Regions from separate parts of the Homo sapiens genome. Here all the other regions are linked to region 1. The links are contacts of gene promoters, found by promoter capture Hi-C in human tissues and cell types (Jung and others, 2019). All regions are on one chromosome and are shown on one strand. Each heading gives the region's core, a stretch centred on a gene start or on the middle of the fragment in contact. The rest is flanking DNA. Distances are from core to core; before and after follow the strand shown.

Region 1 (2,886 bases), core at 255-2,754:
AGAAAAATCCTCCATTAGACAGTAAACTCATAAAGAAAAACCGACTTTAGTTTTTAATCTTTGACAGACTTTATAGACTCTAGGGCCTATCACAGTGCTTGCCATATAAAATGCTCAATCAATATCAACAGATATTTAAGTGAATAATTGCCTATTCTCACCATTGGTAAAATTTAAATCAGTATTCAACTTAAATGATTGCCAGATAATACAACTGATTTTTAAAGAAATACACTTTAACTCATATGGACATAAATATTTTACAGTATCCAAGTAGTGCTGACATTACTCAAGGAATTGTTTAGGACTACTTGTTCAAAATTGTCTTTCAGACCTAGTTCTTCGGAAATACATTATAATTATTTCTATAAAAGTGGGCATGACTAAGTAGAATCTAGTCTTGCCCACTTTTGGCCCAGCCTGACTCAACTGGTTTTGATCTGGATGACTTAATATTATTTCTGAAAATTAAATCTACTCTGAAAGAACAGACTTATTACTAATTTTGTTAAGTACTTACCGCGATTTCCAATTAAACTTGAGGCAACATGATGTCTTACTCCACTTCCGCCACTGTAGGCTTGAAATAAGATGGCAAGTGTGGTGAATAATAATGGTAATAACTCAAATAAGACTTTGGCCTTTGCTGCCATCCTATGAAGACAGAATCACCACCCCCCAGCCCTCACCCCTCACCCCCGCAATCCGAGTAATTTCAGGAAGCTATTTGTTTCCTTATCCTTGGGTTATTTTCAGTTAAGACAAATGTACAAGCACAAAAAGGAGTCTCTTAGCTTCTGACTCCTAGGACATAAACCAAGACACGCTTTACTATCACATACTCATTTCCCTAAAGGGAAGAAGCCAAAAAATGCATACTATAGTAAAATGGGAAACATTTCAAGGGACAGTAAGGTGTGGGGAAGAGTGGGCAGATGTTGTGGCTGTTACCTGCGTGAAGGTAAATAAAATATTAACAATAACAAGCACTTCTACACCGCTATGTGCAAGGTGCTATTTATCCTTTCAATCACAGCTCTGTGAGGTAGACACTTATGACTCCCATTTTACAGATGACAAAACTGAGGCTCACGAAGGTGGTTAACTAGCCAAGGCCACTCGTCTAGGAAGTGAGAGGCCAAGGTTCAATCCTAGGCAATCTGGCTTAAGTTTGTGTTCTGTTAAAAAAAAAAAAATTAAAGGTTATCTGGCAATTTTTTAAACGTCAGGACTGTCATCTGTGGAATCAATTGAAAAGGGAATCAACACTTCAGAAACTGTAATACACCAAGGGAACCTGCTATCCTGGGAAAGAGAGATAAAGGAGAAGTCAGCTGACTGTCCTCCTTCAGACTAGCTCAGACCACCCCAACCTGCGAGGGCCCTGGAGACCCCTGTGGCGCAACAGATCCCTTACTGGGTCCCTTCCAAGTGGCGTCACATAGCAAGCGTCCAGAAGGAGGCGGGACTTCCGGGCCAAGCGAGCCAATTCCGGCCGCGCCGGAAGTCTCTACTGAGGAAAGCTATGAGGATACTCTGTTCGTAAGCTCCCGGTGAATTTTGTTCCACAGACTCGGAAGAAAGGTTGGATAAGAGTTCACTGGAGATTGACAAGTACTCGGGATAGTGAAAAGCCGGAGTTGGAACATGGATAGCCGCTTGCAGGAGATCCGGGAGCGGCAGAAGTTACGGCGACAGCTCCTCGCGCAGCAGGTCCGCGGCCCTGGTGTCCCCTGTGGGAGGGATCGAGAATGCGAGTGCGCGGCCGCCTCCTCCCTCCACACCCCGCCTTTTTCTGTCCCTTCTCTACCTGCCGCTGTTAAGGCCTTTCTGGTCCTGCGATCTTGATCCCTGGTTCTGCCTTTGTAGTTCTCAATTTTCGCGGTGTCCCGAATGTTTTTCCAGTTCCTTCCGCGGTCTTTGTGGTGCTAAACCGAATGCCAGGATTAGCCTTTAAGCTTTGTGGAACTCCCACCGAGTGTCTGGCATGTTCACGCCAGGATGAGTGTCATGTTATCCCCTACATTTCTCTTCACTATTAAATGGTCATCTATTTCTTTCTTTTCTTCGTCGTCAGCCCCAAATTCTTGAGATTGTGGTTTCATTATGAAATACGTTTACAGTATTTTCTTTGACATCTTTCTGAAGACAACACTGGAAGTAGCCTGAGTGTAAATTTTAGATTCTGCATCTTATATAGAGTATCCTTGTCACATCCACAGTTAATATTTGAAATCTTACTCTGTGTTAGTCACAATAATCTCCTGAAACAGGTATTATTACCTTCACTTATCAAGTAATGAAAAAGGCTCCATACGTTAAGGAATTTTACTCCTGGTCGCTCACTTCTCTGCTGGGAAATAGAACCTAGGTTTGTCTCCCCAAAGCTTGTCTTCTAAACCATTGTCCTTCACTTCTTTCTTGTGTATGAGTAAGTTAACATTTGCTGATTAGTAGAGTGCACATGCAGAAAATACAGATTGTGCACAGTTCTACTTAAAATCGAGGCTGTATTTTCCATTCTACTATTCAGATCAGTAAAAGTGATAGGAGCAATGCTCATAGAGTGTAATTAGTCATCTTGCAGTTATTTTTCAGTAATGAAACTTGGTTTTAGTAAATGGACTTCTGAAACCTATCCTCTTTATGGTCTGATGAACAGATTTGTGGAATATGGCTAAAACCGTGGAAACTTGGAGTCAGATTTGTTCCTTTGTTCCTTATCCCGCTGGCATTACGATCTTGGGCAAATCAAGTATCCTTTCTAAGTCTTCTTTTCGCCAACTTCTTTTATCGTATTATCTTCAAAAATGTTAAGTAGCTCTTTGTTGCTACCACAGAAGACGTTTTACTCCTTAATATTGAATTCAAACTTCTATTTGACTC
Region 2 (2,892 bases), core at 261-2,760, 150 kb before region 1:
GCAACCTCTGCCTCCCAGGTTCAAGCAATTCTTGTGCCTCAGCGTCCTGAGTAGCTGGGATTATGGGTGTACACCACCACGCCTTGCTAATTTTTTTTGTATTTTTAGTAGAGATGGGGTTTCACCATGTTGGCCAGGCTGGTCTCAAACTCCTGAGCTCGGGTGATCCGCCCACCTCGGCCTCCCAAAGTGCTAGGATTACAGGCATGAGCCACCGCGCCCAGCTGATACTGATACCAAATAAACTTTGTTGAATAAATGATGCCTGGAGTCTTCCCAAATTTGTCTATATCTCCTTTGTTTTTTGTTGTTGTTGTTTTGTTGGATTTTTTTTTTTTTTTTGAGACAGAGTCTCACATTCTGTTGCCCAGGCTGGAGTATAGTGGCATGATCTCGGCTCACTGCAACCTCCACCTCCCAAGTTCAAAGGATTCTCCTGCCTCAGCCTCCCGAGTAGCTGGGACTACAGGCGCATGCCACCATGCCTGGCTAATTTTTTGTAAAAGTAGAGACAGGGTTTCACCACGTTGGCCAGACTATTCTTGAACTCCTGACCTCAAGTGATCCACCTACCTCAGCCTCCCAAAGTGCTGAGATTACAGGCGTGAGCTACTGTGCCCAGCCTCTTTTGTTTTTTAAAAGATACCTAGCTCATTATCAGTAGGCCCTGAATAGTTTAAATGCTTAAGATTCCAAATTGAAAATTTTTAAGTCAAACTCTAAAAATTTTTACGTAGAAATTCCTTGTCTTAGCCCCATTTTTACCTAGCTACAGTTATTTTTTTTGGGAAAAAAATTAGGATGTGAGAGATTGTATTTCTGTTTTATCATAATAGCATTATTCACTGTATAAGATACAATCATCCAGTAATGAAACATTTCAAGGATCCATATATGGAAGTCAGTATTGCTTGTTTATATTCACACCTGCATATGTTGATTTCATTATACAATATTTTACCTCATTTTGAAAGTCATGGTTTAAGATACAGAACTCATGTGAATCACATTTCTAGGAAACCTTAAGTGAATTTCTTAAGATCTGCTTGAGCTGTTTACAGTGGTAACACATCTGTATGAAAGGCATGTCAAGAAGAACAGAGATGTGGCTTCACAACAAGCCAAAGGCTGTATTAAAATTATGTGCTGTCTAATAAAAAAGAAAGAAGATATCTAGTTAAGTGGCAGAATAGCATAAATGTGGTTATGTTCATTGCTTTTAACAGCTGAGAAAAATAATCTTGAATAATGGGCCAAAACCAGGAAAAGGCTTCAGGGGAAAATGTAGTTACAAGTACTTACAAGGCATGTACATTTTTTAAAATTATAGCCTTATCACATTCAAGCCACATCTGGGTACTTTTTTATATACTAATAAAAATACTGTATTTTTATTTGTAGGCAGTGTAGTAATAAGAATACTGTCTTTTATTTGGAGATAGCATTTCCAAGTATGTATTTGACCTTGCTAAGCATTCATGCTTCGTAGCCAATGATACTGAGCATTCCATCTGGAGTGCCTCTAGATAGGGGATTCACAATTGGTCTTTACTGGTTAGGGGGGATTCACAATTGGTCTTTACTGGTTAGGGAACATCCAGAACTTTTTGCTCATGCACAAAGTAAAAACCTTATATGTCCTGTTATATAAGTCCAGTTGGTGCCTGCATTCGTGTACTTTTTAACTTGACTTCTTACTCCCTCTGTGTGCTAGTATAGGGTCTCTTACAAGTGTACTTTTTCCTACATTGTATAAGCAATGAGAATTTTAAATGAAGTGAAGTTAATTTGCTAATATCTTGGGGTTTTTTTTTTTTTCTTCCCATGCCTTGTAAACCTTAAACCACTATACTTGTTCTATTTGAGGTGCAGGGGAGAGCATGAGTGAGTAATCACTTAGAAGGACAAATACAAGCTAAACCAAATACTTAAACGAAATTTGTTTTTACCTATGGAAATAAAAAAATTTTTTAGCCACATGCTTATGGATTTTTACTTTATACCTGCCTTTGCAATTTTGGGGCCTGATACAAGATCCTTGACTCTTTAAAAATAATGTGGCTCTTCATTATTTGGCTGACTGGCTTTTATACCATTAGAAGGAATTGGGAAGGAGAGGGGTCGCTAATCTCTTCTGCGTTCTTCTTCCCGAATCTCATTACCGTGACCTCTGTTCAGATTAAAAGTCTCCCTGGTGCATCCTATTATAAATCATACTTTTTTATGAATCGCTGACCATATTTGTCACCATTGGGGAGGCAAATAAACCTAAAACACAGAGCCTGTGTTCCAAACGAGTTCATAATTTATACAAGGATTAAAAGCTAATTCATATCATTCTTACACCTTTGCATCCTCACAGCTTAGCTCCCACTTACAAGTGAGAACGTGTGGTGTTTGACTTTCCATTCCTGAATTACTTCACTTAGAATAATTGACATTAGACTTTTTTTCCTTATATTTTCTTTTTCCAGTTTTCCTGAGTACCTTTCATTTGATATCCCCTCTTTCCTCTTACAAAACTTTTTTTGCTTACTAAACTCTTCTAGATAGTGTGGAAACCATGAGCTTTTCTGGAATGACCCTTAAACGTCTCTCCTTAAACTCATTTTACATTTTAACACTTCTGGTCATTTACAAACTACACTAAATTATTTCTTGAAAGCTGAGTCATTACAGTTATGATCTCTTAGCCAATGTTAAATGTTTGACTTGCGGTCATAAACTTTGGTTTTAGGATTCTAAAGCTAGTATACTTCATTAATAGCCCACCACCGTTGCTTTTTTCCAGTAATATCAAAGGAAACTTAATTCCAGAGGTTCATGTGTGTATCCTCTGGAAAGTTTTACATGTAAAAACGTTTGAAAATGAATTGTGCTATTAAAAAATAG
Region 3 (2,749 bases), core at 155-2,654, 130 kb after region 1:
AAAAACCTGAGTTCCTAGTGGGGAGACACAAAGGCAGCCAGACGTGGAGAGGAGCACATCAGCGGATAAAGATACAAGCAGCTGGACAGCGAGAGGACGTGGAGGGAGAATGCCAGTGGAAGAGCACACTGACAGACATGGGAAGAGGCGGAGTTTGGCCGGGGCAGTCGGAGACCCAGGGCCACTGAGTGGTGGGACTCCAGAGGAAAATCATCTCCCTCTGGCTCCCCCACCTGCTGAGAGCTACTTCTACTCAATAAAACCTTGCACTCATTCTCCAAGCCCATGTGTGATCCAATTCTTCCAGTACAGCAAGGCAAAAACCTGGGATACAGAAATCCCTCTGTCCTTGTGATAAGGAAGGGGTCTAATTGAGCTGGTTAATACAAGTCACCTATAGACGGCAAACTAAAAGAGCACCCTGTAACACACGCCCACTGGGACTTCAGCTGTAAACATTCACCCCTAGACACTGCCATGGGAGTCGGAGCCCCACAGCCTGCCCATCTGTATCCTCCCCTAGAGATTTGAGCTTTGGAGCACTGAAGAAGCGAGCCACACCCCCACTGCATGCCCTCCAAGGGGCACGAGGGAACCTTTTCCATTTCATTACCTCATATGGCAAAATAATTTTATTAAGTTAAGGATCTTCAGAGGAGGAGCTTATCCTGGCCCTGAATGGAATCACATGTATAAGAAAGAGGCAGAGGAATTTTGAGACAGACACCCAGAGAAGAAGACACAAAGAGAAGGAGGACTCAATGTGACCACAGAAGCAGAGACTGGAGTCACATGGTCACAAGCCAAGGAAGACCTGGAGCCACCAGAAGCTGAAAGAGCCTAGGAACAGATTCTCCTCTACAGCCTTCAGGGGCAGCACAGCCCTGCTTAGTCCGTTTTTCATTGCTTATAACACCTGAAACAGTAATTTATAAAGAAAAGACATTTATTTCTTATAGCTATGGAGGCTAAGACGTCCCAGGTTGAGGGGCCACATGTGGTGACAGCCTTCTTCTGGTGGAGACTCTGCAGAATCCCAAAGCGGCACAGAGCATGACATGGCAAAGGGGCTGAGCGTGCTAGCTCAGGTCTCTTTTCTTCTTCTTATAAGGCCACCAGTTCCACTCCCATGATAACCTATTAATCCATTAACCCACTAATCCATGAACGGATTAATCCATTCACAAGGGCAGAGCCCTTACGACCCAATCATCTCTCAACACTGCCACACTGGAGATTAAGTTTCAACATGAGTTTTGGAGAAGACAAATGTTCAAACCACAGCACTTGCCAACATATTGATTTTGGACTTTTGGTCCCCAGAACTGTGAGAGAATACATTTCTGTTGTTTTTAGTCACCTGATTTGTGGTAATTTGTTACAGCAGCCACAGGAAACTAATACATTATCCTAAACCATCCACACTCTAGCCAAGCCTCCAGCTGACCCCAGATGCATGAGCAAGCTCAGCCAAAATCAGATGAACCTGGCCCAGATTAGAAAAACCGGGAACCCACTGGGTCATGAGTATTAATAAACAGTAGTGCTAAGCTACTGTTTTGTAGCAGTTGGTTACACAGCATAAGTTAGCTAATATGGTAGCTTTTCCTGCTCCTTTATTTCTAATTCTTCAAGTACTTATGTTTATCGAACCTATTCAAAGACACAAAATAAACTGTAGCCAATTTCGTTATTATTCCAAAAGGATTTTACATCCCAATGCCATAAGATTGGCAGCTTCCCTGTCTCAGTGACATTGGGCTTTGTTTTATGACTTGCTTCAGCCAAGGGCACATGAGTGGTTATGACACATGCCACACATGAGTGGAAGCTTTAAGAGCTGTTGCACATTTTGGCCAGCTCTGTTTCCTCCCTATGCCACAAAATAGCATGTCCTCAGTAGTGTTTGCCTCTTCACGCTGGATTTTGGAATGATAAGGACGGATGAAGCAGAGCCTAAATCCAATCTGCAGCTGCCACAGCCTACATGTAAACTGAGTGATAAATACATCTTTGCAGTTGTAAGCAAAGTTGGGGATTGTTTGCTATGCAGAATGGCCTTGCAAAGCTTGACTGATAAAATTATTAAAGAGTAACCCTCCAAAGAAATCACTTGAGTGAAGAGTTTAGTTCTAACTTTACATTAAAAAAAATTTGTTTTTTTATTGTGCAAGATGTAAAATATACTTTCAGTCTCTATGGGTTTCTCTTATTGAAAAGGATCCTTTAGTTATCTAAAATAGCATATTTCTATAGGATATAGTCTGTTAATTACTCATTAGATAGCGATACTGCCAAAATATGTCAATGTAAACATTGTAGACACTGCCAAGTTTATATGACACCAAAAAAAAAGAAAAAAAAAATCAGCACAGGCTGCTCTTTCATGGAGACCTTTAGTATGCCCATAACCCTAGCATGCTTTCCCCCATACATGCATATAAGGAAGGAAGCCTTCCCTCTATGTGATGAGTATCTCCTAACTTCTATGCTAATGAACAGGATAAATGCTAACAAACTGATGAGTTGCTGAGAAAAATTAATGCTCCTTTGTGAGTGAGACTGTGAGAGTGAGAAGAGTACTTACTGGGCTAGGGATAGAGTCAGGATCCAGCTTCTTCTGGGGCTGTGGCGGACCAGCCATCTGTGCAGGACCTCCAGGGAAGCCTCCTGGGTAAGACAGTTGTGCGCCTGCCATCTGGGGACCAGAGTTGGCTGCTTGGAAAAAATTTAAAGAGAAATGACTATC
Region 4 (2,711 bases), core at 70-2,569, 140 kb before region 1:
CTGAATATCACTTTGAAAGCTATGATTTTTTCAGCTTAAAATTGATAAGGACCTTCAAACAAAAACAAGTTCTGATCATTATAGCCTGGTCTAAACTAATTTCTTGGTCTGATTTTCTGATTCTCTAGTATTTAAATATTAAATATTATAGTAAATATTACAGTAAAGTTTATTTCATAATGCCAAAATGACAAGTTTGACTTCTTAGATCTGTTCTATTACATATTACAAATTGTTTTTTGTTTTTTGTTTTTTGTTTTTGAGATGGGCTGGAGTGCAGTGGCATGTTCACAACTCACTCACTCAGTGCAGCCTCGATCTCCCTGGGCACAAGCAATCCTCCCACCTCAGCCTTCTTAGTAGCTAGGACTACAGGCATCTGCACCACACCTGGCTAATTTTTTTGTATTTTTTATAGAGACGAGGTCTCGCCATGTTGCCCAGGCTGGTCTCGATCTCCTGGAATCAAGTGATCCACCCACCTTGGCTTCCTAAAGTGCTAGGATTACAGGCATGAGCCATTGTGCCTGGCCAACAAACTGTATTTTAAAATAAACCATTTATTTCTTCAGGGGGGCATTTTTTTTTCAGGGGCAACCCGTGAAAAACCCATTTTCACCAAAGGTGAAATGTCTATGGTCTAACAGTTTTAGATCCACAAACACTATACTCAGTAGCCATCCTCTGGAAAAATTCACTGAATTTTTAGCACTGTGTGGCTAAACAGAGTCTTTCTCTATTGTATAAGTCCATTACAGTTCTAAGTTGGTCCATGAAATAGTCATTATTTCCTTATTTTCCATCAGTCCTAATGCTGCAAGGACTCTTTTACAAGAACATAATAATTTAGAAAAGATGGCTGGCAAGGGTGTTCATTTTTTTGAGTTTAGAAAATTTAATAAGTAGGCCATAAGAATATTCTTATACCAGATTCTAGACCCGTTGCCACCTTAAGCAAATGTTCCAGACTTGATGTGATGTTAATGAGTTTCATGTTTTTAAATAAGGTAAGTCTGGCATGTTGATCTTTGAAGAAATACCAGCACAAATATTAACTTAGTTTACTACTTAAATGCTGATCAGCTTGCAGTAGTAATACATTTACATGAGGTTATATAGTGTTGTTTAAACTAGATTTCCAGACTTACTGAAAAAATTTTAAAAGAAACCAAAAAAGTAGCTAGTATTTACATCTTTCTAAGACTGCTGAATCATGTCTGATAGACTCTAAAGTGTTAGAAAAGTGTCCCACATTTGAAAGACACGTCAAAATTTTGTGGTCCTTTATTTTATAAGTTATTTGATGTTAGGGTAATGATAGGATAATTATCTTTATTGGCAATTGTTTTTATCAAAAGGATAGCATCCTAATTCCTAATAGGTTATTATGTGCAAGTATACTAACACGAATTAACAATTGTTAAAGAAAAGCACAGTAAGTACTCCCAATTTTTGGTCTTTAAAATAATATAGACACTTTTCTTGATCGATAAGGTGCTTATTCCTATATAAAGAGGTCTTAACAGACACAATTGTTTATACCTAATTCAACCTATTTTCATCTCACTTATTCCTATACTGCATATATTCTGTCTGAATAAAATTGCATTTTCTTTATAAGTGACAGTTACACAGTCTTTTCTCCTTATACCCAGGTGATACATGTTGTTCCCAGATATCCACTGGATGCCTGACACCACAGATAGTTCTAAAACCTAATATACTGTGTATTTTCCTACACATACATGCCTATGATAAAGTTTAATTTATAAATTAGGCACAGTAAGAGATTAACAATAGTAACTAATAATAAAATAGAACATTTGTAACAATATACTGTAAAAAAAAGTTATGTGAGTGTGGTCTTTTCTCTCTCTCTCTCTCTCTCTCCCTCTCCCAAAATACTGTAATAGTTTCGGACCATGCTTGACTGCCACTAACTAAAACCATGGAAAGAGAAACCGTGGATAAGAGGGCATTACTGTATTGTAAATTATAAATATTAAAGTTTTGAGGTCATAACATCATTTACATTTGTTTTATATTTTGTTTTCAATAAAGAATAAGATAAACGGTAAAGAATATATGCATGTATTAATAAGCATTCAATTGGAGCTCATACACATGAATTAATTGGTACTGTTGGCTTAGTATTTTAATTCTCAGTTTATGCAATGGTTGGTTTTTTTTCTTTGTGTACCTTTGAAAAGATACATTGCTTTGGTATTATTAACAAAAAAGTAATAGGTTTTTAAAATATAAAAAGTTATATGCTTATGTTTTTTGATTTATAGAATATTATTTAAAGACAAAGATCGGAATTGGGATGACATAGAAAGCAAATTAAGAGCCGAAAGTGAAGTCCCTATTGTGAAAACCTCGAGCATGGTATAGTAATTTTTCTTGAAGATTAAAACATTTTAATAGGGTTTTATTTTAAGGAAAAGACCCTTATTTTTGAGCTGTTCGTTGATTTGCTTTTTCAAAAGAAGATATAAATGCAAAATTTTGGGAAATTTTATTTCTTCTACTGACTCACAGGTTTAAAATGTTGATTGTTTCAAAGTTGCAGAGGGTATGAAGGAGGAGCCTTTTGTGTTTCTTACTAGTGTAGATTGTTCTTGTAATAATTAAACATTAGAAACATGAAATTTTTAAAGAGAACCAAATCTAACATGAAAATATTAAGTTGACATAAGTCGTTTCCGTTT

What was found. The method cuts DNA at HindIII sites, captures the fragments that hold promoters and counts their contacts. A contact is called where the count stands out against the background at its distance.
Region 2: a contact is called between a fragment that was not itself captured here and the fragment with the promoter of METTL14 in region 1, in 1 of the 25 tissues and cell types used here (heart right ventricle).
Region 3: a contact is called between a fragment that was not itself captured here and the fragment with the promoter of METTL14 in region 1, in 2 of the 25 tissues and cell types used here (liver and mesendoderm cells).
Region 4: a contact is called between a fragment that was not itself captured here and the fragment with the promoter of METTL14 in region 1, in 1 of the 25 tissues and cell types used here (hippocampus).

What each region holds. Positions count from the first base shown.
Region 1 is chr4:118,683,888-118,686,773 of GRCh38, forward strand. METTL14 (methyltransferase 14, N6-adenosine-methyltransferase non-catalytic subunit) reads left to right here and starts at 1,505. Exons shown (of 11, transcript NM_020961.4): 1 at 1,505-1,713. The coding sequence starts at 1,648. METTL14-DT (METTL14 divergent transcript) reads right to left here and starts at 1,454. Exons shown (of 7, transcript NR_125930.1): 1 at 1,418-1,454; 2 at 521-580. RefSeq lists enhancers at 1,464-1,723, 1,904-2,043. The HindIII fragment of the contact is 10,452 bases long and covers 1-2,172 here.
Region 2 is chr4:118,531,138-118,534,029 of GRCh38, forward strand. It overlaps the pseudogene CEP170P1. Among named protein-coding and RNA genes, the nearest start is that of METTL14-DT, 150 kb to the right of the region's middle. RefSeq lists enhancers at 201-700, 1,942-2,442, 2,443-2,892. The HindIII fragment of the contact is 5,936 bases long and covers 1-2,892 here.
Region 3 is chr4:118,812,441-118,815,189 of GRCh38, forward strand. SEC24D (SEC24 homolog D, COPII component) reads right to left here. Exons shown (of 23, transcript NM_014822.4): 6 at 2,588-2,715. Among named protein-coding and RNA genes, the nearest start is that of SEC24D, 22 kb to the right of the region's middle. The HindIII fragment of the contact is 4,377 bases long and covers 1-2,749 here.
Region 4 is chr4:118,548,785-118,551,495 of GRCh38, forward strand. It overlaps the pseudogene CEP170P1. Among named protein-coding and RNA genes, the nearest start is that of METTL14-DT, 140 kb to the right of the region's middle. The HindIII fragment of the contact is 4,913 bases long and covers 1-2,711 here.